Regions from separate parts of the Homo sapiens genome. Here region 2 is linked to region 1. The links are contacts of gene promoters, found by promoter capture Hi-C in human tissues and cell types (Jung and others, 2019). All regions are on one chromosome and are shown on one strand. The core of a region is centred on a gene start or on the middle of the fragment in contact, and the rest is flanking DNA. Distances in the headings are between cores, read along the strand shown.

The links. The method cuts DNA at HindIII sites, captures the fragments that hold promoters and counts their contacts. A contact is called where the count stands out against the background at its distance.
Region 2: a contact is called between a fragment that was not itself captured here and the fragment with the promoter of BIN2 in region 1, in 1 of the 25 tissues and cell types used here (mesendoderm cells).

The regions. Positions count from the first base shown.
Region 1 is chr12:51,322,101-51,325,708 of GRCh38, reverse strand. It overlaps BIN2 (bridging integrator 2), which reads left to right and starts at 1,535. Exons shown (of 13, transcript NM_016293.4): 1 at 1,535-1,687. The coding sequence starts at 1,607. It overlaps LOC105369767 (a long non-coding RNA gene), which reads left to right and starts at 1,701. Exons shown (of 2, transcript XR_944957.3): 1 at 1,701-1,981; 2 at 2,506-3,341. RefSeq lists a silencer at 1,300-1,789 and an enhancer at 1,820-2,009. The HindIII fragment of the contact is 13,760 bases long and covers 1-3,608 here.
Region 2 is chr12:51,669,651-51,673,258 of GRCh38, reverse strand. All of the region lies in intron 2 of SCN8A (sodium voltage-gated channel alpha subunit 8), which reads right to left. Among named protein-coding and RNA genes, the nearest start is that of SCN8A, 80 kb to the right of the region's middle. The HindIII fragment of the contact is 9,676 bases long and covers 1-3,608 here.

The sequences.
Region 1 (3,608 bases), core at 286-2,785:
TGTGTGCCACCACGCCCAATTAATTTTTGTATTTTTAGCAGAGAGAAGGTCTTGCTATGTTGCGCAGGCTAGTCTCAAACTCCTGGGCTCAAGCAATCTGCCTGCCTCAGCCTCCTAAAGTGTTGGGATTACAGGTGTGAGCCGTGGTGCCCGGCCAGACTTCATTAAGCATCTTAAGGTCAGGGACTGCATTTTATTCATCCTTGTTTCAGAACACCCAGCAATGCCTGGTACACAGTTGACCTTGAGTGCAGTAATGATTGTTTTGGAGAAAGAAGAGGAACACAGTAGCATACAAGGGCCTCTAATTTTGTGTCAGGCCCTATCTTCCCCCTCCACTCCTTAGGAAGTGTTATTTTGACCTTCTTCCCTGCCTTGAGGAAATTTTAACCTGCACTGTAAAATCTGAGTACGTGGTTCCTCCACACCTAGTGTCCTAATCTCAAGCTATCCCCTCAAACAGGTCAGGGAGGAATTTTTTGGAGAACTTCTCCCTAAAGAAACAATAGTTGTCATCTCAACAGCCGCACCCCAATTTGCACAATCTGTGTCTGTGTTCACATTCTGCCTCCATCCAGTACACTGTACTCCAACTAGAAAAACTTGCTCCTCATGCTCAGCACGGGCGTCCATACTATCCTCCTCAGCCTTTTTTCAATGTGATCATTCTCTTGCCTAAGAACCAGCCCCCTACCCTGTTTCTATCTCCAGCTTAGTTGTTCCTCATTTATTTATTTATTTATTTATTTATTTATTTATTTATTTGAGACGAACTGTCGCTCTGTCGCCCAGGCTGGAATGCAGTGGCGCGATTTCGGCTCACTGCAACCTCTGCCTCCCGGGTTCAAACAATTCTCCTGCGTCATCCTCTCGAGTAGCTGGGACTGCAGGCGTGCGCCACCACACCCAGCTAATTTTTGTATTTTTAGTAGCGACGCGGTTTCACCGTATTGGTCAGGCTGATCTCCTAACCTCAGGCGATCCACCCGCCTCGGCCTCCCAAAGTGCTAGGATTACAGGCGTGAGCCACCGCGCCCGGCCTGTTTCTCTCTTTCAAGCCCGGCTCGGGTGTCCTGCCTGCTTTCTGCACTCTATCCCTACCAGTTCCAGGCTTAGAGCCTACCTGGAGCAAGAAACGCAGTGTACATGGCGGCTTCGCATGCATACTCAGAGAACCTAAACGTGTTTTCGATATGGTAGGTCCTCTCGCTGAGTGGAACCCACATCATTTTCTACCCTGCGGTGGCAGTTGCTTTGCAGTGCTCAGCGTGATGGGAACTGGCTTTCCGGAGCGAGTGAGTGTGGGCCCACCACTGAGGACCTGGTTCAGTGAGGCCGAGGTTTCGGGCAGGGGTTGGAGCTCGGAAGCTGGCCTCGAGCGAGCGCTGCCTGAGGGTAGGCCCCGGGCCCGCCCCTCCGAGCCGGCCTGCTCCAGCTGACAGTGGTGGGCTGAGGGGCGGGCCTCAGGGCTGGCCAGGGGCGGCCTGAGGTGGCTCAGGGCTGGGGCCGGATGCGAGGCATGCCGGGAGCCCGCACTTCCTCCTCGGGGGCCTCAGAAAACCACAGGGCGCGGGGCCAGGGCGGCGGCCCCCAGGGAGTTGGCAGGATGGCAGAGGGCAAGGCAGGCGGCGCGGCCGGCCTCTTCGCCAAGCAGGTGCAGAAGAAGTTTAGCAGGGCCCAGGAGAAGGTAGGTGGCCGGGCCTCGCTGTCTGTCTGGCCCACAGGGAGCCGAGGCCGAGGCCGAGCCCGGCCGGGCAGGAGGGGCGGGCAGGGTGCTCAGGGGCCCCGAAGGGTCTGGGCTGACGAGAAGGGTCTCCCGCTCTCCCAGGGAAACGGGAGCGAGGAGTGGGCTTCCATGAAAACTGGCAGATTGGAGAGAGGTCGGAGACCGCCACCCGATCTTGGGCAAGGATAAGGGAAGCTGGGGAGACAACAGTCTCTGGGCAGAACCTTCGACAACCCTCAGGCTGACCCAGAAAAGGTGAAAGAAAGGAAGTGATGGTGGTGGCCACCTTTGTATCAAATTTTGTGCTAGCAATCCAAAATTGGTATTTTACAGATGATGAAATTGGAGGGTAATTTTCCATAGAGGGCAATTTCCCCAAAAACAGCGATGCAGCGGATGCCAGCAGGCACCCCCCACCAAAGGCTTAGAATAATCCTGCATAGTTCTCCCCCTACCTGACCCTGCCTGGCCTCTGGGTGGTGTTTCAGCTGACGTAAGCAGGAGCCCAAATCTGCTTCTTCTACCCTCCCTTTGGCGTTGGGGAGTACACCTCCCAGGGTGATGAACCACATCTGTGTTCAGAGTGTGTCCTTGGTTAGTGTCAGGTAGCCCTGCTCCAGCACTGGCACTTAGGTGGGCTGCCCATCTATTACTTGCTTGGCAATCTAAATTGTGGGGACATTCTCTACACATTTTGATGGCATTTTTGTTTCTACCTGTACAGAATATTTTCTTTGCTTCTAACCTGAGCCTCTGCTCTCCACCTACCAACCCTCTAGTAGACAAGGCGGTTTGGGAAGACATGTCAGCCAGAAGAAAGAGCGAGGGAAGAAAGACAAGAAGGACCTGAGATAGAGTTTCGGTTTTCCTTTTTTTCTCTCTCTCTTTATTAAGCCCAACCTGCCTTCTACAACGGAGAAGTTTTGGTTTTCTAAGAGCTGATGGACTTAGAAGCATTTGGATGAACAGCTCTGCTTACCAACTGAAATATCCCTATTATCTTCTAAAAGTGGAGCACTGCTTTGAGCCCTGGGAAGGCTTAAAGGCAACCAGCTCTCCCGAGTTGATTTATCAGCAGAAAACTGATGGAATGTAGATGTAGCTCCTGACTTTAAGAGACCACAATGGAAGGGAGGTTATTTTCTATCATTTGAGGTCATGTGAAAGAGAGGAGGAAAAGGGAAAGAGTTCGTGTAGCCAGACTTCGTTACTTCACTTACCCTAACTTCACCTTGATCCTAGTTTCAGCCTCTCTGAAGACTTACAAATCTGGTAGACCCGAGAGCAGGGCCTATGGGAAGGTCTAGCTCGAAACAGTGTGGGCGAGCAGGAGGTACTGGAGAGAAGGCCACACTGTGGTTGAAAAAAAAAAAAACCCTAAAAGACAAAACACTCATGAATGATAGTAATTTTAAAAAGACATACCAGCCAGGCACAGTGGCTCACTCCTGTAATCCCAGCACTTTGGGAGGCCAAGGTGGGAGGACTGCTTGAGCCCAGGAGATCAAGACTGCAGTGAGCAGTGATCACACCACACCACACTCAAGCAGAGGGAGACTCTGTCTCAAAAAATAAAAATAAATACATAAAAATAAAAGACATACAATTGATTGTATTTCACTCTTGCATCTTCTGTCTTCATCTAGCCTCTCGTCAACACTAAAACCTTGCTTTGGGCTTTCACTCCTTTGTAAGCATAGACTCCAAACCTTGGCTAAATAATGTCCTGCTCTGGGCTTCAGATCTTGCACCTGTAAAATGAGAGGGTTGATGTTCTTGATGAAACTCAATATGGTAAGAACACTAAATTGAAAAGCTGTCACATTAGACTCAGAGTCAAATACTTCCCAAAGACAGAACCAGTCTCTCAGGTTCTTCTGGC
Region 2 (3,608 bases), core at 506-3,005, 350 kb before region 1:
CTTATAATACTTAATACAATGTAAATGCTTTATAAATAGTTATACTATATTGTTTGGGAATAATTACAAGAAAAAAATGTCTGTACATGTTCAGTACAGATGTGCTTTTTTCCCCAAATAATTTCCCCAAATTCTTAAATGTGGAACCCATGGGTATGGAGGGCTGACTATACTAACTTCATATTGAGGCAATGCAAAATGATAGAAAATTCTCTAAAAATGATAGGAAACAAAACCAAAAAAATCATCCTGCAATATGCTCTATATAGACAGCAGGGCATGGAAGAAAGACCATGAAGGTGAAATTCACAGATCCCTGGAACAGAAACCTGACTCTACCACATATTAGTTGAGGGAACTTGAGGAAGCAAGTTAATGTTTCTGGAGCCACAACTGTTTCATACTTGTGAAAGCGTGCATCATTATACTGAGATATCCCTAGTACTGGCAATCCTCAGGGACTGAAGAAAATTGGGGAGTCAAAAATGATATCTAGAATTTTGCTGGTGCCATCAACTAGGAAAGTAGATAAAAGAAGATAAGCAGGTTTGAGGGGAAGAAAATGAGTTCAATTCTGAATATACTGAGTAACCTGTGGGAAAATCCAGAAACAGATGACTGGCAAGGTGTTGAATATTTAAGGAACATTCTAGGCTAGGCTAGAGTCAGGAGTCCTCGAACTGAGGCTGGATGAGATCATCCAGGGAGAATGTGCCAACTGAGAGGAACATGGGCCAAGAACTGAATCTGGGGGAATATAAACATTTTAGGGAAAGGTTGAGAACATGAAAGAGAAGGAAACATTTGAGATAAAAAGAAAATTAGGCCAAGGAAGTAAAGAGATATAAGAGTCAGGGAATAATAAATGGTGTCAAACACTGCAGAGAGGTTTAGTGAGTTAAGAACTTAAAAAAAATCTTAGACTTGGCCATTTGAGATGTTATTGGGAAGATCTTATAATATCATGAAAGGGGTGAGGATGCAGTCAGGCTTCAAGGATGGAGGAGTGGGTAGATATGTGTATGTGGTGAGTAAACCCTCCTCTTTACAATTTTCAGTGGCATGGGAAGCAATTAGACTACCTGGGGACAGGAGGTCAAGTGAGGATTCATTAGGATGGGAGAGGCTTTGAGTGTGTTTACAGACTATGGGAAAGGAACCTATATGAGAGGAAAGACGGAAAATACAGAAAAGAGAAAGGGTAACCAAAGGAGTGAAATTCCAGAGGAGGTAGAAAGGCACAGGGTCAAAGACAGGGGTGAGGGATTGGTCTTGAACAGTAGATGGGGCACCCTATTCTCTGAAATCAGCAGAATCTTTTATTCCAACTTGGTTCCATAGGCCAAACTTTGCAGGCTCAACAGTGTCTGGAATAGAAATGCATCTTCAGAGCTTGTATCAAAAATTCTTCTGGTAAAATCAGAGTTAGCAGAAATTGTCATATGATGGGACAATCCTGATCTTAAGTTGTGTCAAATAGTGTTATATGTAAAGAAACATTTACAACTCATTTGTCAATTTGGAAACAATTCAAAAGAGAAGCATCCCTCTGTAAAATAATAACACAGTTTTCTCTCCTTAACTAAGAAAGCACTTAAAATATGTTTAATTATTGTCAGAGATGATCGATATTATCATAATCTTGAAACATTCTTTAACATTTAAATGGCCATTATTAAATAGTCCCATTCCACAGGTAAATTTTTGTTATGATAAGATTGCACAAATCACACCCTGGAGAAACCAACAGAAACTAATTCCTAAAATTACCAATCAGTGGAATTTTATGGCTGAGGTGACTGGCTAATAACACACATCCTAGAATTCAGGTAAAAGCTGTCTATGTCTATACCCTATGTGGCTCAGAACTATGGAATCACAGCTTAGTACCTGCATGAGAACTTAGGACTGGAGAAAATTGCAAACATTATTGGGAACACAGGTACCCTCCATATCTAACCCGAGTTAAACCTGGAGAAAATGCTGGGTTTCTTTGTAAGCACCCCAATAGCTCACACTGATGCTCAAGTATATTTTATTTCTGTCTGTGTAAAAATCCAAGAGGGGCAAATGCTCTCAAAATTGGCTCTTTTAAAGATTATAATTTAGTACTTGCTGAAGTCCTATTTAAGATACTGAATATTTGAGAGACCATATAATCTTTGATTCTTCTGGATTCTCCAAGTTTAGTCTCTGTACCAAATTAGAGCACCATAAGCCTCTAAAGTAGCTGGAACATGTTATCTTCATTAATGCACGTATCATTATCAGTAATAATTTTATTTCCGTATTTGTTTGTTATGTGTTTCCCTAACAAAAAAACTAAGTTCCAACAATGTATATGGCTTGTCTGTTTTGTTCCCAAGGGCACGGAACAGAGCCCCGGCATATAGAAAACACTCAGTAACAATTTATCAAATTGTCAAATGAATAATTGCATGCTCGATTCCTTCCTTAACCCTCCATAATCTATCATAAATCATATTGAATTCATCCAATCCCCTTAATTTCCACTCCCACCACTGTAACTCAGACCTTCATTATTTCATAGCTGATCTGCCTGTTTCAGTTCTCTTTCCTTCTGGCCCAGCTTACATATTGTCGTCCCATTCACCTCTCTAAGCACAGCTATCATCACGTATCCTTACTCCCATTCCAGAACCTTCAGTAGTTCTCTACTGCTTCTCAAACAAACACCACACCTCTGAGTCTAACATTCTAAGCCCTCCAGGATTTGCTCCAGCTCACCCTCCCCAGCCTCATCTTCCACTGTTCCTCAGTCACTTCCCCACATTCCAATCAAATTAGATGACCTGGATTTTTCTTACAGAAATGGTCTATACTGCAACCTGTAATAAGTGACATGTTAGCTGTTAGCATAATCTTAATTTTCTAGATTGGAGGAATTGAGACCTTAAATGGTTAAATAGCATGCCCAAGATCACCTGGAATTACACAGGGATGGGATCAGAAATAAGATTTCCCAACTTTTGGTCTATTGCCAAGGCTACAAAAGAGAAATCTGATTTAGGAATGCTTAATTAAATTCCTTCTCCTCTAGGTAGCCATACTTAGAGAGGGGACAAGACCATACGTGCCCATCAATGACCCATCCCCTTGAGAAGGGCCCACCTCCCAGTGTCTCAAAGCATTTATCTCAATTTGATTTGGTAAATAAAATAACTGAAACATCATTTTGTTTCCTTATATTGTTGGGAAAAAATTTTTAACAACAAAATAAACCAAAGTTTTAAAATATGTAGTTTTTATTTAAAACAGAAAGCAGCATTTAGGCTTATTGTGCAAAAGCAGGAAATACAACTTATTAGCAATACTTCAAATCACACCTAATGAACATAAATCCTTCCGTAATGGTCTCTGTGCTGCACACCTGTTGAAAGTGTGTCAGCACAGTTTTGGCAAGGATTTTCTGCCAGGAGCTCATATAGGGCTGCGTGTGTATGTATCACTTAAGCTGATGGCACTAATATTAGTGAAATAAGGAGAAAATTGCAAACATTATTGGGAACACAGGTACCCTCCACATCTAACCTGAGTTAAACCTGAAACCAACTTCTTATCCAATGTAGGACTGAAGATCCTAATGT